Regions from separate parts of the Homo sapiens genome. Here regions 1, 3, 4, 5, 6 and 7 are each linked to region 2. The links are contacts of gene promoters, found by promoter capture Hi-C in human tissues and cell types (Jung and others, 2019). All regions are on one chromosome and are shown on one strand. Each heading gives the region's core, a stretch centred on a gene start or on the middle of the fragment in contact. The rest is flanking DNA. Distances are from core to core; before and after follow the strand shown.

The links. Contacts are between HindIII fragments. The study calls those that stand out against the background at their distance.
Region 1: a contact is called between a fragment that was not itself captured here and the fragment with the promoter of EP300 in region 2, in 1 of the 25 tissues and cell types used here (stomach).
Region 3: a fragment that was not itself captured here is called in contact with the fragment with the promoter of EP300 in region 2 in 2 of the 25 tissues and cell types used here (IMR-90 fibroblasts and aorta).
Region 4: a contact is called between the fragment with the promoter of POLR3H here and the fragment with the promoter of EP300 in region 2, in 3 of the 25 tissues and cell types used here (adrenal gland, dorsolateral prefrontal cortex and hippocampus).
Region 5: a contact is called between a fragment that was not itself captured here and the fragment with the promoter of EP300 in region 2, in 1 of the 25 tissues and cell types used here (IMR-90 fibroblasts).
Region 6: the fragment with the promoter of TOB2 here is called in contact with the fragment with the promoter of EP300 in region 2 in 2 of the 25 tissues and cell types used here (dorsolateral prefrontal cortex and hippocampus).
Region 7: a contact is called between a fragment that was not itself captured here and the fragment with the promoter of EP300 in region 2, in 2 of the 25 tissues and cell types used here (dorsolateral prefrontal cortex and hippocampus).

The regions. Positions count from the first base shown.
Region 1 is chr22:40,627,358-40,630,461 of GRCh38, forward strand. All of the region lies in intron 1 of MRTFA (myocardin related transcription factor A), which reads right to left. Among named protein-coding and RNA genes, the nearest start is that of MRTFA, 7.8 kb to the right of the region's middle. The HindIII fragment of the contact is 9,289 bases long and covers 1-3,104 here.
Region 2 is chr22:41,090,787-41,094,171 of GRCh38, forward strand. EP300 (EP300 lysine acetyltransferase) reads left to right here and starts at 1,806. Exons shown (of 31, transcript NM_001429.4): 1 at 1,806-2,312. The coding sequence starts at 2,219. It overlaps MIR1281 (microRNA 1281), which reads left to right and starts at 1,727; the gene lies at 1,727-1,780. RefSeq lists silencers at 707-996, 1,097-1,866, 2,047-2,146 and an enhancer at 2,257-2,496. The HindIII fragment of the contact is 16,440 bases long and covers 1-3,385 here.
Region 3 is chr22:40,771,616-40,775,062 of GRCh38, forward strand. It overlaps SLC25A17 (solute carrier family 25 member 17), which reads right to left. Exons shown (of 9, transcript NM_006358.4): 8 at 2,322-2,404. Among named protein-coding and RNA genes, the nearest start is that of MIR4766, 41 kb to the right of the region's middle. The HindIII fragment of the contact is 5,383 bases long and covers 1-3,447 here.
Region 4 is chr22:41,542,494-41,545,780 of GRCh38, forward strand. It overlaps POLR3H (RNA polymerase III subunit H), which reads right to left and starts at 1,977. Exons shown (of 6, transcript NM_001018050.4): 1 at 1,498-1,977. The coding sequence starts at 1,608. RefSeq lists enhancers at 1,338-2,175, 1,498-1,597, 1,608-1,697 and silencers at 1,748-1,877, 2,068-2,167. The HindIII fragment of the contact is 26,348 bases long and covers 1-3,287 here.
Region 5 is chr22:40,706,035-40,709,474 of GRCh38, forward strand. No RefSeq gene overlaps it. Among named protein-coding and RNA genes, the nearest start is that of MCHR1, 28 kb to the left of the region's middle. The HindIII fragment of the contact is 5,121 bases long and covers 1-3,440 here.
Region 6 is chr22:41,445,177-41,448,524 of GRCh38, forward strand. It overlaps TOB2 (transducer of ERBB2, 2), which reads right to left and starts at 1,625. Exons shown (of 2, transcript NM_016272.4): 1 at 1,203-1,625. It overlaps LOC105373043 (a long non-coding RNA gene), which reads left to right and starts at 1,769. Exons shown (of 2, transcript XR_938274.2): 1 at 1,769-2,856; 2 at 2,943-3,348. RefSeq lists enhancers at 1,395-2,090, 1,837-2,086, 2,091-2,786 and a silencer at 2,657-2,756. The HindIII fragment of the contact is 14,496 bases long and covers 1-3,348 here.
Region 7 is chr22:41,405,280-41,408,729 of GRCh38, forward strand. No RefSeq gene overlaps it. Among named protein-coding and RNA genes, the nearest start is that of TEF, 25 kb to the left of the region's middle. RefSeq lists a silencer at 3,073-3,122. The HindIII fragment of the contact is 5,819 bases long and covers 1-3,450 here.

The DNA.
Region 1 (3,104 bases), core at 180-2,679, 460 kb before region 2:
CCCACCTTGTCCTCCCAAAGTGCTGGGATTACAGGTGTAAGCCATAATGCCTGGCCCTTATTTGGCAAGTATTAATTGAGCAACTTAAGATGTGAGGTTACTATTATAGTTTTCCACCTCAGGAATGGCAACCAGATACATATAATGAATACCGCACAGAATATTTTCTGAGCTATAACATCTTGATTACTACTACAAAGAGTTCTCACTATAACTGACATTTTCGCTAACTATGCAAAAGACACTGAACACGAAAAGACATTTACTAGAGGCAAAGTTAGGAACTTCATATACATCATGGTAGGAAGCCAGAATTATTTAATTCAAAAACAGATCTGGATTCAAATCCTGGCCAGGCACAGCGGCTCATGCCTGTCATCTCAACAGTTTAGGAGGTCAAAGCGTGAGGGCAAGAGTTCAAGATCAGCCTGGGGAACACTGTGACACCCCGCCTGCACAAAAAAATTTAGCCGGGCATGATGGCACACGCCTATAGTCCTAGTTATGCAGGAGAACTGCTTCAGCAGTTTGAGGTTACAGGAGTTTGAGGACACAGTGAGCTATGACCCTGCCACTACACTCATGTCTGGAAGACAAAGCAAGACTCTGTCTAAAAAAAACAAAAAAGCAAAACAACAACAAAAATCCTGTTATCTAGAAGTTCCTCTAGAAGCTTCTCTTTGCTCATCTGCAAAATGCTGCTACTACCACTTATTTCAGAGTTCATATGAGGATTAATAAGGTAGCACAATGTCTACTATAAAGTAGATGCCCCTATTACTTCCCTCTTTACATTTCTTCATAATCCTTATAACGACCTCATGTTGTAAGGATTATTAACTCTAGTTTACAGATGAAGAAGCTGAATCACAGGAAGGTTAAGGAGTAAGCCTACAGTCACATACCTGGTAACTGTCAGTACCCAGATCTGCTGTGCCCTAAAACTTGACATGGACATGTTACCTCACTGGATATTTTACTCTGTCATATTATGAAGTTCAGAACTTTGTTTGAATTATGCCCATTATGCTTTAAATTTTAATACAAGAACAATTATTTTCAAAAACCAGAATCACCCATAATTTCCACTCATAATTTTAGAGGACAAAGACCTGTAAATAGCCTACCTATCTAGAAATTCAGTAACAGAGGACACACTCCAGATCTCAAAATGAACTAGCCAAATTACTCATTACAAGCTCTCATTTACACAGAGAATGATTTCTAAATGCATATCAATAAGAATGAGTGGGGAGCAAATGAACCAAACATACCACAGAAGTAAAAATGTGGAAGTAAAAAAAAAAAAAGACATTTTCACAACGCTCTTTCTTCCAAGGATTCTACAGATCTTCTATTACTGCTATATGAGCCGGCCTTAAATACTGTGTGAGGAACTGGCCTGGGCTCAGCCCCTGGACTGTTGTGGAACTCAAATCATTTAATTTCACAGTGCCTCCTCCCACTAAACAATGAGAGAACTGGACTTGAGTCATGAACCACAGAACTGAAGGCAACTTGAGCAATTAGTTCCACCCAATGCACCCTGACAGGTCACCCAATTTCTGCTTTAACACCTGCAGTGACACAGAGTGTAATTATCTTCTCTCCTCATACATGTGATATGGATTCAGTATTTTTAAGAATTTTGGCCAGGCACGGTGGCTCACACCTGTAATCCCAACACTTCGGGAGGCCAAGGCAGGAGGATTGCTGTGGCCAGGAATTTGAGACTAGTCTAGGCAATATAGCAAGACTCTCTTCTCTTCTCTACAAAAAAAATTTTTTAAATTAGCCAAGCAGAGGCTGGGCGCGGTGGCTCACATGTGTAATCCCAGCACTTTGGGAGGCCGAGGCGGGCGGATCACTTGAAGTCAGGAGTTTGAGACCAGCCTGTCCAATATGGTGAAACCCCGTCTCTACCAAAAATACAAAAAAATTAGCCGGGCATGGTGGCACATGCCTGTAGTCCCAGCTACCTGGGAGGCTGAGGCAGGAGAATGGCTTGAACCCGGGAGACGGAGGTTGCAGTGAGCCAAGATCGAACCACTGCACTCCAGCCTGGTCAACAGAGCAAGACTCCGTCTCAAAACATAATTAAAAAAAAAAAAATTACCCAAGCAGGCCAGGCACAGTGGCTCACGCTGTAATCCCAATACTTTGGGAGGCCGAGGCGGATGGATCGCCTGAGGTCAGGAGTTCGAGATCAGCCTGGCCAACATAGTGAAACTCCGTCCCTACTAAAAAAAATATATACATATACAAAAAATTAGCTGGGCGTGGTGGTGGGTGCCTATAATCCCAGCTACTCGGGAGGCTAAGGCAGGAGAATTGCTTGAACCCAGGATGCGGAGCTTGCAGTGAGCCGAGATCCCGCCACTGCACTCCAGCCTGGGTGACAGAGCAAGATTCCATCTCAAAAAAAAAAAAAAAAAAAAAAAAATTAGCCAAGCATGGTGGTACATGCTGTTGTCCTAGCTACTCAGGAGGCAGAGGCAGAAGGATCACTTAAGACAAGGAGTTTTGAGGTTGCAGTGAGCTATGATCCCACCATATGCTTCACAAGAGCTTAGAGGTGGAACTAGGGCCCACACTAATACCTAGAATGAGAACCTGTGTGGCTGAGTTTGAGGGACAAGGTTAATCTGGAGGGCATTTAAAAGGTACAGGACTGGCCAAGCACGGTGGCTCATGCTTATCATCCTAGCGCTTTGGGAGGCCAAGGCAGGCGGATCACCTGAGGTCAGGAGTTTGAGACCAGCCTGGCCAACATATAGTGAAACCCTGCCTCTACTAAAAAATACAAAAATTAGCTGGGCATGGTGGCACATACCTGTAATCCCAGCTACTTGGGAAGCTGAGGCAGGAGAATCGCTTGAACCTGGGAGGCGGCAGTTGCAGTGAGCCATGATCACACCACTGTGCTCTACCCTAGGCAAGAGAACGAGACTCTGTCTCTCAAAAAATAAAAATAAAAAAATAAAAGGTACAGGCCTGGGTGTGGTAGCTGGATGACAGAGTGAGACTCTGTCTCTTTAAAAACAAAACAAAAGAAACAAACAAAAAAACACCTGGGCAGTTTTTAAGTCAACAGAATCGTTTTT
Region 2 (3,385 bases), core at 556-3,055:
TTTTTGTTTTTCCCATAATTACATTAGATAAGGCAATGGCTAGACGTGGTCTTTTACTAACTTGTTCTATTGGGAGCGGACGAGAAAAAAAAAAAAGACAAACCCTAGAAATGTCTTCAGGTCCCAGCCATGTTTAGGAAAATACTTGAAGGCTTCTGCGGTGAGAGTGCTACCTGGTAAGGGCGTATGGACACACGTGGAGGGCAAGAAATGAATTTGGGTCTGGTGCCGAAACATCTTTCCACTGCTGTGATTTTGTTTTCTGGTCAGAGTAATAATGCTCGTTGTAAAATAAATAAATAAATAATACATAAAAAGGAAAAGGAAAATTCAGAGAAAATGAAAACAACTCGTAATCAACGTGCTTTTTGGATGTGAACTGCTCCCTTTGGGAGGGCAATGGAGAAGTGAGGACGCACTGGGTATCTGGCCCGGAACAGCCGGCAGTGGGTACACCCTGCCTGGTGAATTCGACCGGGGTTTTGGGGGACCCGCCACCCAAGGGCCGAAGAGCAGGGCCGCCCTACGGGCGCTCCCATTTGGCCACCTGAGTGGCGACTTGGCGCCTTCCTCGGAGCAGCTCCGGGGTTCCGTCGTCCCGGTTCCCACTGGTCCCTTACGCAGAGACCAAAGGCAGGAACCTTCCCTCGTAACTATCCACCGACTGAAAATAGATTCTGAGTCCGCCCCCGCCCCTCCCCCCTTAAAATCCTCCCCACTCTTAAAATCCTCCCCTTTAAAGGGAGCCACAGGGTGACGCCGGGGGAGTTTGCGGAAGCGCTAACCGCGTTGGGGCCTAGGGCGGATCCCGTGATTGGGACAGGCCCCGCCCCCGGCTCCACTTCCCCCATTGTGTGAGCGGCTCGGGCCTAGGCCCCGCCCCCCTCCGGAGGCCCGGCCACTCCCCTTTTCCACCCCCCCTTGGCTCATTTCCGGCCGCCGCCGCTACCGCTAGCCTGTAAGGAGGATTCGGCAGAGGGAAGAAACAACAGCCGCCATCTTGTTTGTGTGCTAGGCTGGGGGGGAGAGAGGGCGAGAGAGAGCGGGCGAGAGTGGGCAAGCAGGACGCCGGGCTGAGTGCTAACTGCGGGAGCCAGAGAGTGCGGAGGGGAGTCGGGTCGGAGAGAGGCGGCAGGGGCCGAGACAGTGGCAGGGGGCCCGGGGCGCACGGGCTGAGGCGACCCCCAGCCCCCTCCCGTCCGCACACACCCCCACCGCGGTCCAGCAGCCGGGCCGGCGTCGACGCCTAGGGGGGACCATTACATAACCCCGCGCCCCGCGGCGTCTTCTCCCGCCGCCGCGGGCGGCCCCGAACGGAGCCCCGGGGGGCGGGCGCTCCCAGCACCTGGCCGCCGGCGGTGGGGGCCGTAGCAGCGGCCGTATTTATTTATTTTCCGCGGGAAAGGAAGGCGAAGGAGGGGAGCGCGGCGCGAGGAGGGGCCGCCTGCGCCGCCGCCGGAGCGGGGCCTCCTCGGTGGGCTCCGCGTCGGCGCGGGCGTGCGGGCGGCGCTGCTCGGCCCGGCCCCCTCGGCCCTCTGGTCCGGCCAGCTCCGCTCCCGGCGTCCTTGCCGCGCCTCCGCCGGCCGCCGCGCGATGTGAGGCGGCGGCGCCAGCCTGGCTCTCGGCTCGGGCGAGTTCTCTGCGGCCATTAGGGGCCGGTGCGGCGGCGGCGGCGCGGAGCGCGGCGGCAGGAGGAGGGTTCGGAGGGTGGGGGCGCAGGCCCGGGAGGGGGCACCGGGAGGAGGTGAGTGTCTCTTGTCGCCTCCTCCTCTCCCCCCTTTTCGCCCCCGCCTCCTTGTGGCGATGAGAAGGAGGAGGACAGCGCCGAGGAGGAAGAGGTTGATGGCGGCGGCGGAGCTCCGAGAGACCTCGGCTGGGCAGGGGCCGGCCGTGGCGGGCCGGGGACTGCGCCTCTAGAGCCGCGAGTTCTCGGGAATTCGCCGCAGCGGACGCGCTCGGCGAATTTGTGCTCTTGTGCCCTCCTCCGGGCTTGGGCCCAGGCCCGGCCCCTCGCACTTGCCCTTACCTTTTCTATCGAGTCCGCATCCCTCTCCAGCCACTGCGACCCGGCGAAGAGAAAAAGGAACTTCCCCCACCCCCTCGGGTGCCGTCGGAGCCCCCCAGCCCACCCCTGGGTGCGGCGCGGGGACCCCGGGCCGAAGAAGAGATTTCCTGAGGATTCTGGTTTTCCTCGCTTGTATCTCCGAAAGAATTAAAAATGGCCGAGAATGTGGTGGAACCGGGGCCGCCTTCAGCCAAGCGGCCTAAACTCTCATCTCCGGCCCTCTCGGCGTCCGCCAGCGATGGCACAGGTTAGTTTCGGCAGCCCCGGCCTTCCACGTTCCCTTTAATCTTTTCTACTCGGTGCGCCTTTATTCTTCCATTTTTTTTTTCTTCCTCTCTCTCTAGTTCCCTGCCCCTTAATTAATTTTAAAGGTATTTGAATGAGCTGGTCGAAGACGTCCAGTAGCCCAACCATTTTCTTTGCCTCCTAATACATTGATTGCAACACTATGTCATATCGGTGTGTGTTCTGGAATTAGAGCTCGTAAGTGGGTGCTATATAGAAATGGCCTGTATTGTTGCTCTCATGCAATTTAATTTGGGAAATGCCAATGCATTTGTGTGTAAGAGCTCCTATGCAATTTAAGTTTCATTTTTTTTGTTCTTGGCAAATGAATTTCGAATCCTTTCTCTTTACTGTACTTACTGTGTTTCCTCTACTTTCCACTCTTCGAAATTTTCTCTCCTTTGCAGAATATTTTCTGTTGAGGAATAGGGTGTAAAAAAATCTTGATTTTGTGTGTGCGAGGTCCAAGATTTCAGGTTAGAGGTGAAGTTTAACAATTCTTTTATCTTACCTACCATTCTTAGCTTTTTTTTCCTTTTTCTTCTTATTTGCTTTAAGAATCAATATGGAGCGCAGTTCATTTCACATCTCCCAGTTCTTTGGTGTGAGACCAAAATGTCTGAAACTCTGGGTTTTTAGGTTGGGAGAACAGGGGCATGTTCTTTGCAGTTTGCAGTCACTTTCTCATTTTAGGGGAAATAAGATAAACAATTTTGTGGAGTTACGTACCTGGAAATCAAGGTTAGAAGTTGAAAGAGTTCCAATCATGAACTACAAACGTGAACTGATTGTACAAAAGTTTAAAATGTGCATTAGGTTTGGTGTTTGTGTGTGTCTTTGTCTTTTTACACTTTTAAACATACTTGGAGATCAAGATTTTCGTTTAAAAGCTTTACGACCAGTTCATTCAGTTGTGGACTAGCTCCTTTGTCAGGAGAAGTTCAGGGAGACTTCTTCCATCATCCCTTCATTCTTTTCTTACAGTTAGTTTAATGGTGTTATCCTGATGGGTAAGGACCTTTTCTTTGCTGGGAT
Region 3 (3,447 bases), core at 8-2,507, 320 kb before region 2:
AAATATCGCATGTTCTCACTTATTTGAGGGACCTAAAAATCAAAACAATTGAACTCATGGAGATAAAGGTAGAAGGATGGTTACCAGAGACTACTGGGAAGAGTAGTGGCGGGGGGAAGGTGGGGATGGTTAATAGGTACAAAAATAGATAGTTTGAATAAGACCTAGTATTTGCTAGCACAACAGGTGACTATAGTCAATAATAATTTAATTGTACATTTAAAAATAACTAAAAGAGTATAATAGGACTGTTTGTAACAAAAAGAATAAATGTTTGAGAGGATAGATACCCCATTTTCCATGATGTGATTATTATGCTTTGCATGCCTGTATCAAAACATCTCACATACCTCAAAAATATATACCTACTATGTACCCACAAAAATCAAAAATTAAAAAATTAAAAAAAAAAAAACAAAGCCATTATTAACATTTGTATACAAGCTTTTGTGTAGACATATGCCTTCATTTCTCTTGGGTAAATACCCTGAAGTGGATGGCTGGGTCCTATAATAGGTGTGGTATATAAAAATTTTTAAAGAAAATGCCAAATTGCCTTCCAAAGCAGCTGTACCATTCTATATTCCCACCAGCAGCATAAGAAAGTAAGTTCTGGTTGCTCCAACATCCCTCCCAATACTTGATATAGTGAGTATTTATTTTTTACTTTATACATATTCTTTGTCTTTTATTTTATTTTATTTTTTGATAGAAGGTCTCACTCTGTTGCTCAGGCTAGAGTGCAGTGGCACAATCACAGCTCACTGCAGCCTCGACCTCCTGGGTTCAAGCAATCCTTCCACCTCAGCCTCCTGGGTAGCTGGGACTACAGGCAGGCACCAGGATGCCTAGCTAATTTTTTATTTGTGTAGAGACGGGGTCTCACTATGTTGCCCAGGCCAGTATCAAACTCCTGAGCTAAAGCGATCTGCCTGCCTTGGCCTCCTAAAGTGCTGGGATTATAGGTGTGAGCCACCACGCCCAGCCTAATTTTGTCTTTTAGTCCCTTGAATGTTCTTTTTTTTTTTTTATTTTTTTTATACAAGGTCTTGCCTCTTTAGCCCAGGCTGGAGTACAGTGGTGCCATCATAGCTCAGTACAGCCTCAATCTGCCGGGCTCAAGTGAATCTCCTGCTTCAGCCTCGTGTGTAGCTGTGATTACAGGTTTGTGCCACATGCTTGGCTAATTTTGTAAATATTTTTTGTAGAGACAGGGTCTCACTACTTTGCCCAGGCTGGTCTTGAACTCCTGGCCTCAAGCTATCCTCCTGTCTCAGCCTTCCAAAGTGTTGGGATTACAGGCATGAGCCACTTTGCCTGGCTGCATATTTTATTTTAATAATAAATTTATTTTCAAAGTATCTTGTATCTAGGAACAGTAATAAAGTTATAAGAGCTTTTGCTTCAAAGGAGGTCCCTGACTTATCTGACTTCACTAAGTGTCAGTTTCTTTAAATGAAACAGGAAATGACAATAGTTCTTAACTCACAGAGCTACTGTTAGGATTGACAAGGCTGGGCGCGGTGGCTCACACCTGTAATCCCAGCACTTTGGGAGGCTGAGAAGGGCAGATCACGAGGTCAGGAGATCAAGACCATCCTGGCAAACACAGTGAAACCCCATCTCTACTAAAAAATACAAAAAATGAGCCAGGCGTGGTGGCAGGCGCCTGTAGTCCCAGCTACTTGGGAGGCTGAGGCAGGAGAATGGTGTGAACCCAGGAGGCGGAGCTTGCCGTGAGCGGAGATAGCGCCACTGCACTCCAGCCCGGGCAACAGAGCGAGACTCTGTCTCCAAAAAAAAAAAAAAAAAAAAAAAGGATTGAGATTACCTATGTGTAGCCTCTAGGTCAGTGTCTGCCACATGGCAAACCACTGAAAATGTTAGCTACTCTTACCAACACCACCATCATCATTATCATCATCATCATCACTATTATCACTTTTTCCACTGCCCCCTCCCTTCTCCAGTACTCCTATTCTATAGGCAGATGTTATATTGCTAAGAGGCATCATAGGATATGCCACTGATGAAAGCACACTCAGGGTGACTGAAGTATAGAAGGGTTCTCTTTCTGAAGGAGTTCTGAATATTTGTAACTAACAAAGAATAAGAACCTGAACTTTTCCATAATTTCCCAAAATGCTGTCATACTGTACTAGGCTCCTAAAATGGGAAATGTCTAAGCACAGCAAGCAAGGGAAAGGTTTTGGAGGTTGCCACCACCAAGGCAGTAGTGTGAGAGAGGGAAATGCAACCCCTCCCTGGCAGAGATGGCTGCTGAAGGAGAGCACGGAATGTGAGGCATCTACAAAGCTCACCTTACTCGTTGGTGAAGAAGATAGAGAATATTCCGAAGACTTCCCAATGTTCTGTTTTCTGGGTTTAGTCTATGACGCCCAAACTGAGGAAAGAGGGAAAAAAAACAAAAGTACTGTTGCTGTTTTTTAAAATCTTCATTTTTACCTGGGGAGGATATTATGTTGGAGTAGTATCTTATAGCATACATTAATAAATTTATCCAATTAGTACCATAGATTTCATTAATCCTGTATTTTTCAACTGAGTGAAATATTTCAATCAAATAAGTGAAAATAAGAAAAATTTTTCCTTTTTTTTTTTTTTTGAGACATCTTCTCACTCTGTCACCCAGGCTGGAGTGCAATGGCACAATTTTGGCTCACTGCAACCTCCACCTCCCAGGTTCAAGTGATTCTCCTGCCTCAGCCTCCCGAGTAGTTGGGATTATAGACATGTACCACCACGCCCGGCTAATTTTTGTATTTTTAGCAGAGATGTGGTTTCACCATGTTGGCCAGGCTGGTCTCGAATTCCTGACCTCAAATGATCCACCCACCTCGGCCTCCCGAAGTTCTGGGATTACAGGCATGAGCCACCATGTCCGGCCTAAGAAAAATTTTTCAATGAAGCAAGCATAATAATTTTCATTTTATAGAGAGGTATAGGGAAAATTCTACCTCAAAAGAAAAAAATATGCCCAGGATGATGATTTAGATATTGATGGTAATAACTTCCACTTCTTTAAGAAATTCTGAGAAATGAATCATTTAGAACATCTGCAGTCTAAGCTCTTCAGATTATGTGTTTACATTATAAAAGTGTTAAAATACATTTATAAGGATGCTACTGAATTCCCTTATGTTAAGTACCAATTTTAAAATAATATATTAGTAAAAATGCTTTTAACAGAAGGTACTAATTTTTCTGAACTGGAATATTCTCACTACCACCCCTATTTTATCTAGCAACAAGCCTTTTGAAATTTTTCTCCAAAACAGATCTTGAATCTGTCCTCATCCTACCCCTCTCCTCTCCAGTGCCACCACCGTGGTCCAGGCCACCATCCTCTCTTGCCTGTATTACTGAAATGGCCTCCTACTAGATTGCCCCTGGCTTTCTCTCTTAGCTTTCTGACCAATTCACCAC
Region 4 (3,287 bases), core at 727-3,226, 450 kb after region 2:
TCACCATCAGATCTCACCTTCAACCCCACCTCCTCAACAAAGCTGCAGGTCCCCTCATTCCAGGGGACGTTCCTTTGTTCCACAGGTGTGTGAACACCTGTCCCTCATAACATTTACCTCAATTTGTCACCAAACACTCAACTGTGGACCCTTCTCATTCATATCTGCTTTCCCACCACACTATAGCACAGAGCCTTGTCTCTGTTTCATTCATTCAGTCAACAAATGGCCGGGCACGGTGGCTCACACCTGTAATTCCAGCACTTTGGGAGGCTGAGGCAGGCAGATCACCTGAGGTCAGAAGTTTGAGACCAGCCTGGCCAACATGGTGAAACCCCGTCTCTACTAAAAGTACAAAAATTAGCCAGGTGTGGTGGCAGGTGCCTGTAATCCCAGCTACTCAGGAGGCTGAAGCAGAAGAATAGCTTGAACCTGGGAGGTGGAGGTTGCAGTGAGCCAAGATCGCTTCATTGCACCCCAGCCTGGGCGACAAGAGCGGCACTCTTGTCTCACACACACAAACACAAAACAGAAAATTATGGGACATCTACTCCCGCCAGGCTTTGGCTAAATGAGGGGATACTTCAGGGAAGAAGGCAGATAAGGTCCCTGCTCTCAAGGAGAGGGAAAGGAAAAAGTCTAAGAAGGAAAGAGAGTGATGTGACACAGAATACCTGGAAAGGGAGGACTGTCAAAGAAACGGCAGTGGGAAGACCTCTCAGCTGGTACTAAGGCACACAGGCACAGCACAGAGAAGGCGCACAAATATTGGCTGCTGGAATGAAGGGATGAACCTCCTGACAGTTAATTCTGTACTACTAGAACTCTCCATCTTCACGAAAACAATGCATTGACCCGAGGCGATGGCGCACACCTGTAATCCCAGCACTTTGGGAGGCCGAGGCGGGGGGATCAAGAGATCGAGACCATCCTGGCCAAAATGGTGAAACCCCGTCTCTACGAAAAATACAAAAATTAGCTGGGGGTGGTGGCGCGCGCCTGTAGTTGTCCCAGCTACTCGGGAGGCTGGGGCAGGAGAATCGCTTGAACCCGGGAGGCGGAGGTTGCAGTGAGCCGAGATCGCGCCACTGCACTCCAGCCTGGACGAAAGAGCAAGACTCCGTCTCAAAAACAAAAAACAAAACAAAACAAAACAAACAACAACAACAACAAAAACAATGCATGGCTGGAAGGACAGCAATATTTTATCCCCATTTTAAAAATGGAAACTGAGGCCCAGAAGGGGTCAGTAACTTGCCTGCAATTGCAAAGTAATTTAGAATTGTGGAATCTAACACTTCCAGTTACAACTCCCTTTTTCAAGCCCATTTTCTTTTGATCCCCTTCAATATCTCCTTTCACGGTGAAGAAAAGTTCTGAGACATTAAGCTGCTTGCCCACGGCCAGGGCTTGGCATGACCGAGGCCGGGCCTGCGGCCAGTGGGCGGCGCTCGCTCTCCCACGCCAAGGCCTGCCCGCGAGCCGTGGGCCCAGTACCTTGTTGGCCAACTTCTTGTTCAGCTCCTCGGCAATGGAGTCGTTGAGCTTCCTCTCAAACTGCCAAGGGGGGATCCGGACGGTGTCCACCATTTCCACCAGGACGAACATCCCGGCCTGCGCTGGGGGCTCTGGGAACAGGAGGGTCAGTCACGCACCAGGGCCGGGGGCAGGGAGAATCCCCGAGCCCCTTGGTCCCGTCCCAGTCGCTGAGGCCCCCAGGCTGGCGGTGAGGTTGCACGGGGCGGTCTCGGGGGCCCGGTCCGGGCCATGCTCCGCTACTACAACATGAGGAAACTGAGGCCAGAGGGAGGCACTCTCCGTCCACAGCTCCGGGTGCGCGCCCGCGCCGCGAGACCCCGCCACGCCACGCCACTCCACGCCACGCCACTCCACGCCCCGCACCCGCGCCACGTGCCGCCGCTCGTATCACGCACCACGCACCACGCACCGCGCACAGCCGCTCGCGCTTGCGCGACTGCGGGCGAGATTCCGAATCCATCGCTTCCGGAAAACTCACCAATAAGAAACCTCTGTCCACCCCCACCCCGCCGAGGCGGGGCGGGGCTGCCTGTGTGCTCGCGCACAGCGTGGGGCAGAGAGAGGGCGAGGAGAGGGCGGGGCCTCCTCCTTTCACAGGAGCAGAGCGGTTCCCCCGCCCCCGACAGCGCTTTCTGTTGCTAGGCGACCTCCGTGCAATCCCGCCTGATTATCCCTCGCCTGGCCTGTGCTTTACCCGCATTGCTGTCCTCTGCTCGGCAGCCAGAGTGATCCTTTGGAAACGCAAACATATATTACCACATCTAAGTTAAAAAAAAAACCCACCGCAAACATAACATGCTTAGCACCCTTAAGTGTTCCGGAGACAAGGAGAATTAGCAGGAAAGGGGCACTTGGGACTGTTCTGAGATGATGGAAATGTTCTGTATTTTGTTTTCGGTGGTATAACATTGACGTATATAATTGTCCAAACTAATTGAACTCGGCAAGATTTTTGCATTTATTTGTAGACATTATGTTCCAATTGAAAAGTTATAATAAATTGGAACAAAAAACACAACCCATTGAACTTAGAATACTAGATCCAAGCCGGGCGTGGTGGTGTACACCCGTAGTCCCACCTACTCAGAAGCCTGAGACAGCAGCATCGCTTGAGTCCAGGAGTTTGAGGTTGCAGTTTGAGGTTGCATGCTGCACTCTAGCATGGGTGACAGTGACACCTCATGTCTAAACGAAAAAGAAGAAGAAGGAGAGGCGGAAGAAGAAGAAAGAAGAAGGAGAAGAAGAAGAAGAAAGAAGAAAGAAAAGGGAAAGAAGAAAGAAAAGAAGAAAGAAAGAAGAAAAGTCCAAAACCTTTATGGTAGTTCACACGGCCCTGCAAGATCTGACCATACCCCCCTCCTATAGCCCCATCATGCTCTGTCTCGCTGACATTCCAGTCTCATTCATCTTCACGTGATAGCATGGGCTAAGAGAATTTGGTAGCTTACCCAAGATCACGTGTTGACAAGTGGTAGAGGTGGGCCCAGTCTGAACCTCACTACCCTGCCTCTAAAAATTGGTGGGGTGTAGATGTATACTGTAGTGGGTTTTTTTGTTTGTTTGTTTGTTTGAGACGGAGGATCGCTCTGTCGCCCAGGCTGGAGTGCAGTGGCGCGATCTTGGCTCACTGCAAGCTCCGCCTCTCGGGTTCACGCCATTCTCCTGCCTTAGCCTCCCGAGTAGCTGAGACTACAGGCGCCCACCATCACGCCTGGCTAATTTTTCGTATTTTTTTTTAGTAGAGACGA
Region 5 (3,440 bases), core at 754-3,253, 380 kb before region 2:
GCCTTGATTGATTAAATCATTGACCATTGGCGACCGGCTCAACCCTTTGGGAGGGTGTGGCTGAGAATTCCAACCCTGTAATCATTTGGTTGGCTCCCCCAGCTCCCAGCCTTCATCCTTAGGGACTTCCCTAAATCACCTCATTAACATAAACTCGGGTGTGGGCCAAAGGTGCTTGTGATGAATAACAGAAGATTCTCCTTTCAATCCTTCTGGAGCTATTTCAGGAACTAGGAACGAAAAGCAAATATGATAACACCAGATGCTCCTTTTGGTTTCTATCCCTTAGAAAGTAACAAAGGTATTAGGATCTCTGGCCAGGAGCCTTATATTACATTATTTCACACATTTATTCCTTCCATCTGATTTCTGGTCTCAGAAATACCTAGGTTTATGCCCCAGGATGGCCATAGACTTGCTGTGTGACTTTCAACAAGTCACTTAACCTCTCTGAACTTTTTAAAAAGTCTGTAAAAATGGAAATCTGAATACATTCCTTGTAGGGTTGTTGTGAGAACTGACGTGTATATAAAGTAGCACAGAATAGGTGCCCCCCAAAAAACCTTCATTCTCCTCTTCCCTCTCTTTCTTGGTAGCATCCTAGTCTAAGCCCTCCTCATTACATACCTGGATTACTACAGTAAATCCCCAAAGGGTCTCTGGTTTTCTAGTCTCTTTCACCAATCCAGTCCATCTCAAACACCAAGACTGGAGAAATCTTCTTAAAATATTGTATTCCTCTTTTTTTTTTTTTTTTTTTTTTTGAGATGGAATCTCACTGTATCACGCAGGCTGGAGTGCGGTGTCATGATCTTGGCTCACTGTAACCTCCACCTCCCATGTTTAAGTGACTCCCCTGCCTCAGCCTCCCAAGTAGCTGGGATTACAGGAGCATGCCACCATGCCCAGCTAATTTTTGTATTTTTAGTAGAGACAGATTTCACCATGTTGGCCAGGCTGGTCTCAAACTCCTAACATCAGGTGATCCTGCCTCAGCCTCCCAAAGTGCTGGGATTACAGGCCTGAGCAACTGTGCCTGGACTTAAAATATTGTATTCCTTTTGTCACTTTTCTGACCTTTTGTAATTGCCCAATGGGTGCTTCCCGTCTGCTGCACAGACCAAATTAATTTTTTTGAACTGTGGTATTGCAGTAAAGCAAGAGTTTAATTAACACAAGGCTGGTTATACAGGAGAACTGGGGTTATCACTCAAATCAGTCTCCCTGAAGGATCAGTGGTTCAGATTTTTCAAGGATAGTTTGGCTGGCAGGGACTAGGGAATGGGTGCTGCTGACTGGTTAGGGATGCAATTGTAGGGGCGTGGAAAATGGTCCTTGTGCACTGAGTCCACCTCTTGGTAGGGCCACAGTCATGGTCATGGGTCACGAGTCTGAAAAACATCTCAAAAGGCCAATCTTAGGTTCTACAAGAGTGATGTTATCTATAGGAGCAACTGGGGAAGTCACAAATCTTATGGCCTCTGGCCTCATGACTCCTGAGCAGTAAGGGATTACAGAAACTACACCTGCATTTTGACAGAATTCAGCTTCCCCTCATAATCCTAATCTTTTGGCTTTTCACTAGTCTTACAAAGGTGGTTTCAGCTCTCAAATTAAAAGGGACTGTTATCATCCTTGCTTCAAAGTTAAACTATAAACTGAATTCCTCTCATGGTTAGCTTGGCCTATGCCCAGAAATGAGCAAAGAGAGCCAACCTGTGAGGCTGGAGGCTAGATGGAGTCACCCATGTTAGATTTCTCTCATTGGAATTATCTTTGCATAGGCAGTTTCACTTTACCCATTGCCATCAGGTTACATTGTCAAAGACCCATTCTAGCCCTAAAATCTGCAATAACATGGACTTTTCTCATTTTTTGAGACAGAGTCTTGCTCTGTCACCCAGGCTGGAGTGCAGTGGCGCGATCTTGGCTCACTGCAAGCTCTGCATCCCGGGTTCACACCATTCTCCTGCCTCAGCCTCCTAAGTAGCTGGGACTACAGGCACCCATCACCACGCCCGGCTAATTTTTTGTATTTTTAGTAGAGACGGGGTTTCACCGTGTTAGTCAGGATGGTCTCGAGCTCCTGACCTTGTTATCTGCCTGCCTCGGCCTCCCAAAGTGCTGGGATTACAGGCGTGAGCCACCACGCCCGGCCAATAATATGGACTCTCATATCCAGGATAACTCCCTTGTGTCTTTCTTGAAGCCCATGGGAATGAATGCAATGGCCCAACCAAGAGAAGAAGAAGAAAGAAGATGAAAGAAGATGAAAGAAGAAGAAGAAGAATAGGAAGAAGAGGAAGAGGAAGAGGAGGAAGAAGGGTGAGGAGGAGGAGAAAAGAAAGAAGAGGAAGAAAGCTAAGGATAGAATCTTAGAAACCTTCACTGTTCAGGGCTGGCTGGGGAAGAGGAATCAGCAGAGGAGCTTGTGTTGGATCATCCAGAGAGGCAGGAGGGAAGCCAGGGGAGCGGTGGCATCCTGGAAGCTGATGGAAAACATGGTTTCCACGAGCAAGTGACCCAGCGGGTCAAATGCTGCAAAAAGGTCAGGATGAGGCCTGGCAAGGATCTGTGGTGGATGAATAGTGTCCTCCCAAAAGATACGTCCAAGTCTTGACCCTGACACCTGTGACCGTGACCTTATTTGGAAATTGAGTCTTTGTAGATATAATTAAGTTAAAGGTCTTGCGTTGAGGTCATATAGGTCCATCCTAAATCCTATAGCTGATGTCCTTGGATTTTTTTTTTTTTTTTTTTTTTTGAGATGGAGTCTTGCTCTGTCGCCCAGGCTGGAGTACAGTGGCACAATCTTGGCTCACTGTAACTGCCGCCTCCAGGATTCCAGAGATTCTCCCGCCTCAGCTTTTTTTTTTTTTTTAATATTTATTTATTTGTAGTTTGGTGGGGGTTTTTGTTTGTTTGTTTGGGTTTTTTGTTTGTTTGTTTGTTTAATAGCTCTGCTGGAACCAATATACATCTTTTCTTAAAGCAACATTCCTTTAGTTACTGCCATAGCGCTCCTCCTCTTGATAGTCAAGCTTCCTGGAAAAGTTGCTCCTACTGGTTTAGAACCCACCAAAGTCAACCAATGACCTCTTTATTTCTAAATCCAATGTGCCCTGTATTAGTTTCCTAGGCTGCCATAACAAAATACCACAAACTTGGCAGGTTAGAAACTGTGAAATAATGTATTATCTCATAGTTCTGGAGGCCAGAAATCCAAAATCAAGTTCTCAGGTAAGTTGGTCCCTTCTGGAGGCTCTGAGGCCCACACAGGCACCACTCCAGTCTCTGCCTCAGTCTTCACCTGGCTCGCTTTCTATGTCTCTGTGTCTCAAATCTCCTTCTCCTTTAATAAAAATTGAAAGACAGCAGGGCACGGTGGCTCATGCTTGTAATCCCAGCACTCTGGGAAGCCGAGGCCAATGGATTGCTTG
Region 6 (3,348 bases), core at 375-2,874, 350 kb after region 2:
AAAAGGTTCCCAGGCAGAGAAGAAAAAAACTGTACACCTGACACCTGAGCATCTTCTCATACTAAAATTCTGTGTGTCTCCTCCCATTGCAAGGTCTGCTTTACGACCAGACTTACCAGATCCTCGGCAAGCTCCCCCGCTGGGTGTTAAACCTCCTTAATCCTTCCTCCCACACAAGCTTCTTTCCCCCTATGCTTCACGGAGGGATGGGGGTAGAAGCCCAAGAAAGCAATAGGATTGTTTTTCTGCCGGAAAATCAGAGATGAAGGACCCATTCCCAGGGTACGGTGGGTAAGAAGGAGAAAAAGACCGTTTAGATACGGAGTAGCACCAGAGACTGGCCTCCACCCGTCCCCAAGCTGAAGCTTGCTGTGCGGGGTTCTGGTTTCTCCTGGGGGAGGGAGAGGGCCTGCCGGCTGTGCCTCCTCTCTGCACCCTCCTTCCCCTCCCAGATTTCTGGTGGTCAAGGGCACAGTTCATCCTCCGGACAGGAGGGGAAGGAGTTTGGGGGTAGGGCCCCACCTCGCAGGCACCTTACCAAGATAAGCAGAATCCACTCACTGGCACTGCTCTAAGGGTACTTTTTTCTGCCCAATTTTCCATTAAAACACTTAAGAGTATAAAGAGCTCAGCCGAAACGGTGAACTCTGGCTCAGTGGCCCAAGGACAATCTCCACTGACCTGTCCCGTCGCCAAAGGGGGTGTCCACCCTCCACCCTTCAGGCTCCACAGAGCCAGAAATAGAGTCTATTAACAATTACCACCCCCCTTCCCTGCACACGGGAAAAGAAGCAGAAAAACAAGGCCTGGATCCCCTTCCTTCCTCGGATTTATTTAACGGTGGGGGGAGTTATGTTTCTTTGGAGAACAAGGAAGATCTAGCGAGTAGCTAGGATATAAAGAACCGGGGGAGGCGGGGAAGGGAGGAAATGCACCCCACCCAGGAGAGGGCCACTCTTGGAACTGGGAGAAAAAGGAGCTCTTGGGCACCCCAGGAGCACAGATGGCGTGAGAAGAGGAGCTGGGGAAAGTGGGGTCTGGAGGGAAGCTGGATGGGGAAAGAAAATGCTGGCCAGGCGGGGAGGGAGCGGCAGCAACGTGGAGAGTCCAGCAAAGCGGGAGTGGGGCGGGGTGGAAGAGGTAGTCCGGCCGGCTGGGTCTCGGGGCGGGCCCCCCGCCCGCACGCCCCCCAACTCACTCACTCGGGTCTCCGCGGCGGCGGGGCGCTCTACCGGCCGCGGGGCGGCTTCTCCCTCCAGGGTGGCCTGAGCGCGGGGCGGAGGTCGCTCTCCTTTCCTTCCCGGGCGTCGCCGGGCCAGGGGACCGAAGTCCTTTTCGTCGTTGAGGGTTGGGGGACGAAGCAGGGGGCTATGGACTATGACTCTCAATAATTTCTTTCAGCTCTTAGGAGGTCGGGCTCGGCAGCGGGGGGCCCGAGGGCGGGCGGGCGGACTAGCGGCGACGACGCGGGGATGGCGGATCGGAGGGTGGTTCGTGTCGCGCAACGGCAGACGGTATGGGCTGTCGCCGGCAGACGGTCCTGCCCTCCTGGCCCCGCGTCGCCCGAGCCACGGCTTGCCTCAGCCAACAACCCGCACCTTCCCGCGCCCCGGCCCGAAGTGAGCAAAGTCAATGAAAAGTTTCACCCTTAGCAACCCTGCGCACGGATCCGGCTTCCCCACCCCTGCGTGATGCGTCCCTCCGCCCTGCAGGGGCGGGGCCAGGGCCCGGCCGGGACTACTTCCCAGCCAGCCCCGCGCCTCAGCTCGCTGGTATCTCGCGGAGCAGCTCCTGTGCCCTTCTGTGCTCGCCGGTCGTGCGTCCGGCTCCCCGTCTTCCCCTCCCTGTCACAGCGCCGCGCCGCACTCCTTTCCTTCATTCCCATACCACTCTGAACTTGTGCGCGTCGTGTGAGGTGTTCTCCCAGGGGCGCTCCGTGAGGGCCGGGGACCACCTGGGGCCGGGTTGCTCACGAGCCGGGCACAGTGCACTCTCCCTTTAGTTGTGTTTGGGGGACGAGTATCGCGGGGGAGGGGAGGGAGTCACCATGCCCGCCGGAAACCCCCCGCTGAGTCGTCCGCCCTGCACCTGCCTCGGAGCCCATGGTTCGGACGTTTGCCCGAGCCGTTTCCCGGGGCCTTCCCTCCAGCTCCGAGCGTCTGGCCGTGTCCGCGGCGATAGCATCGCCCCGTTACGGCCTCTGCGGGAGGGGGAACTGAGGGGACGACGCGGGCTCTGGAAACATTTCGGACCCGTTTCGGGCAGGCATGAGTCTTCCGAGCGCCTTGTGATTCCTCGGGGGGCTCAACGTCGAAAGAAAGGCGAGGGAGACTCTGGGGCCTGGGCCACGCTGTGCGGGAGTAAGAGGAGCCGAGGACGAGGCTGACGGCCGTGAAACTAGCCGAGTGCCACAAAGGACCTTCCCCTCACCGCCTCTGGCGCTCCTTTCCTTGCAGCCTGGAGGGCCGGCTCTGGCTCTGCGCAGGCGCGCGGGCGCAGCCCCTCTCCCAACTCTTGTTTGCTCTTTCTGGCCAGCGACCCCAGTGTGGGGCACGCGGGAGAGCCCCACATTTCTTCTAGTCGCAGTCCCGCCGGCGTGGGGTGGCCCCTGACCGTGCAACGGGCGCAAGGCTCGCACCCACTACGGCCCCTCGGGCGGCGGAGCGAGGCTCCGCGAACCCGGGACTGGGCGCGCCAGGCCCGCGCGCTGAGGCCCCCTCCCCCGGCTCTGGCCACGCGGGCTGCTCTGCCTCTGTGAGTGTGCGGGACACAGAGCCAGGGGGAGGGAGGGCCGTGTTCTGCGGTCACAGGCAGACAGGAGTGCCGGAAGATGCAGTCTGGAGCCCCCGGGGGACTGTGAGTGAGGTCTTCTCCCCGGTCCCTCCTTAGATCTCCCATTTCCCAGTTCTCCCCTCCCGCCCACACCTTTTTTGTCATTCCAGACGGTTCCGGCCCAGCAGCAGCCGCCATCCCCACGTTGGGTGGCGAGATCCGAAAGTTTCCAGCTACGAACAGTTTGCTTTTTTTTTTTCCTTGATCGCTTTTTTTGGCAAGGGCGGAGAGCACCAGTAGCGTGGGGGGTTTAAATGCACTTTCCCTGAATGCAACAGAGAAATGCCGGGCTGGAGGGCAAACTCCACCGGGACAGGGAGGCGGGAGATAGCCTGAGCGCCCCCCCATCCCCCACACTCTGAGCGTCGCAACCCCGGGGGCACCTCCAGGGACTACTTGCCTTGTGCGTCAGCGAGTGACAGCGTCACACACACGCCCCCTCCCGCACATGCCCGCTGCACCCTCCCTTTCCCCCTCCCCTTCCCTTCTCTCTTTTCCCCTAGCTCTTCCCACCAG
Region 7 (3,450 bases), core at 653-3,152, 310 kb after region 2:
GTTAAATTTTTTTTTAAAATAAATAAAGAATAAATGGGCCGGGTGCAGTGGCTCATACCTGTAATCCCAGCACTTTGGGAGGCTGAGGCGGGCGGATCATGAGGTCAGGAGATCGAGACCATCCTGGCTAACACGGTGAAACCCCATCTCTACTAAAAAATACAAAAAATTAGCTGGGCGTGGTGGCGGGCACCTGTAGTCCCAGCTACTCGGGAGGCTGAGGCAGGAGAATGGCGTGAACCTGGGAGGCAGAGCTTGCAGTGAGCCGAGATTGCACCACTACACTCCAGACTGGGCGACAGAGCGAGACGCCGTCTCAAAAAAAAAAAAAAAAGAATAAATGTGGGCAAGAACTGGAACCCCATGGGGTGCACGGAGCAGGCCTGCCATATCAGGATGAGGCCAAGGAGGGAGCTTTTTCAGGGGCCTCCTCGAGTGGGGGTGGTGTGTGCAGGTACCGTGTGTGTGGGTTGGGGAAAAGGTGGGTGGACAGGAAACCAGGGGCCCCTGGGGCCTCAGCACTGCCTTTTCAAGTGGGGCAAGATCTCTGGGGCCTCCCCTGCCCTGAGGCCCAGAGCCTGAGTTGCCCGAGTGCCTGTGTCTCAGTGTGTGTACAATTGTGTCTATGTGTGTCTGTGACTGTTCCTGGGTATATGTGTGTGCGTCCAACTGCGTCTGGCAGGGTTAGCATATGTGTACACAAATGGGTCTGTGTGTGTCCTCACCAGGGACTCTCTCACCTTGACCGAGGAGTCCGCGGATCCCAGGGCACCAGGAGGTTTCTTTCTTTCTTTTTTTTTTTTGAGATGGAGTCTTGCTCTGTCGCCCAGGCTGGAGTGCAGTGGTGCTATCTCGGCTCACTGCAAGCTCTGCCTTCCGGGTTCATGCCATTCTCCTGCCTCAGCCTCCCGAGTAGCTGGGACTACAGGCACCCACCACCACACCTGGCTAATTTTTTTTTTTTTTTTTTTGTATTTTTGGTAGAGACGGGATTTCACCATGTTAGCCAGGATGGTGTCGATCTCCTGACCTCGTGATCCGCCCGCCTCGGCCTCACAAAGTGCTGGGAGTACAGGCGTGAGCCATTGCACCCGGCCCAGGAGGTTTCATATCCATGCCAGGAGGGGCCCACAGGGCCTGGGGCAGCTGCTCAATTGGCAGCTGGGGCAGTGCCCTGTGAAGGCTCTGGGGTACCCTGCTTCTGTTCCAGCCCCCTACCCCCATCCCCAGTCCCTAGTAACTGGATCTTCTCTCTCCATCTCTCCCCTGGAAGGACCCAGTGCTTCCTGATTTGCATGATATTTACATACATTTGAATTTAGATCCCTGCTTCCCTGAGGCATACAGCATTATTCTCACTCCTGCCAGAGTAGTCAAGGAGGCTGTGGACTTCCTTAGCATAAGGGAGTCCAGGGATTAAGCTGGAGGGGCCCAACACCTCCCCTCTTCCCCATACAGAGTCAGCCTGGCTCTTTTCCTGCTCAAGATATGTGATTATTTAATTAATTAATTTATTTTTTGAGACTGTTTCACTCTGTCACCCAGGCTGGAGTGCAGTGGTGTGATCTTGGCTCACTGCAACCTCTGCCTCCTGGGTTCAAGTGATTCTCCTGCCTTAGCCTCTCAAGTACCTGGGATTACAGGCGCATGCCACCACACACAGCTACTTTTTGTATTTTTAGTGGAGATGGGGTTTCACCATGTCGGCCAGGCTGGTCTCGAACTCCTGACCTCAAGTGATCTGCCCGCCTCAGCCTCCCAAAGTGCTGGGATAACAGGTGTGAGCCACCGTGCCTGGTCATGTAATTATTGAGCACTTACTGTGTCAGTTTTTGTTTTTTTGAGACAGAGTCTTGCTCTGTTGTCCAGGCTGGAGTGCAGTGGCACAATCTCAGCTCTCAGCTCACTGCAATCTCCGCCTCCCGAGTTCAAGTGATTCTCCTCCCTCAGCCTCCTGGATAGCTGGGATTACAGGTGCCCGACATCACCCCTGACCAAGTTTTGTATTTTTAATAGAGACGGGGTTTCATCATGTTGGTCGGGCTGGTCTTGAACTCCTGATCTAAAGCTATCCACCTTCCTCCGCCTCCCAAAGTGCTGGGATTATAGGCGTGAGCCACCACACCCGGCCAGATTTTTTTTTTTAATTGAGATGAGGGTCTCCCTGTGTTGCCCAGGCTGGTCTCAAACTCCTGGGCTCAAGTGATCCTCCCACCTCAGCCTCCCAAAGTGCTGGAATTACAGGCATGAACTATACCGTGCCAGGACAGCAGATGCTTTCTATGCCCATTCATTTCAACCTCACAACAGCCCTTTACGGTATCTTTACATCCATTTTATAGATAGGAAAACAGGTTCAGAACAATTAAGTGACTTGGTTGAGACCACCCAGTAAGTAGGATTTGAACCCAGCTCTGGTGAACTTTCTGTTGACACGGCTGGAGTGTGGGCTTAGTAAGGGGGCCTAGGCACTTTCTTTCTTGGCTCCTGCCCTTGAGTAACAAACCTGGCTCTTGCTCTTTTGACTCAAGGGTCACTATGTCCCCTGGGGAGATAAGAGGAGCGGTAGTGGTGGTGGTGGTAGCAGACTATTTTTGTATTTTTAGTAGAGGTGGGGTTTCACCACGTTCGCCAGGCTGGTCTCGAACTCCTGACCTTGTGATCCACCTGCCTCAGCCTCCCAAAGCGCTGGGATTACAGGCGTGAGCCACCACGCCCAGTCTGCTAAGTGCTTTTCAAGCATTTTCTCAAACTGTCTTTCCCACAACCCTTTGTGAGTTACATCTTATTATAAATCGCATTTCACAGGTGAGAAAACTAGGGCACAGCGGCCAGGTGCGGTGGCTCACACCTGTAATCCCAGCACTTTGGGAGGCCGAGGCGCGTTGATCACGAGGTCAGGAGATCGAGACCATCCTGTCTAACACAGTAAAACCCCATGTCTACTAAAAATACAAAAAAATTAGCCGGGCGTGGTGGCAGGTGTCTGTAGTCCCAGCTACTCGGGAGGCTGAGGCAGGAGAATGGCGTGAACCCAGGAGGCGGAGCTTGCAGTGACGAGATGGTGCCACTGCACTCCAGCCTGGGCGACAGAGCGAGACCCTGTCTCAAAAAAAAAAAAAAAAAAAAAAGAAAAGAAAACTAGGGCACAGAGAGGTGAAGTGAGTAGCCCAAGATCACATAGCTAAGAAATGTTACAGGCAGACTCAAACTGAGATCTATCTGGGTCCAGAGTCTGTGCTTTTATTCTCTGTGTTGCACTGAACTGAACTATCAAGAAATGGAAATTCTAGCCGGGCACAGTGGCTCACGCTTATAATCCTAGCACTTTGGGAGGCTGAGGCATGTGAATTGCCTGAGCTCAGGAGTTCAAGATCATGCTGGACAACATAGTGAAATCTCTTCTCTGCTAAAACACAAAAACTTAGCCAGGTGTGGTGGTGGGTACCT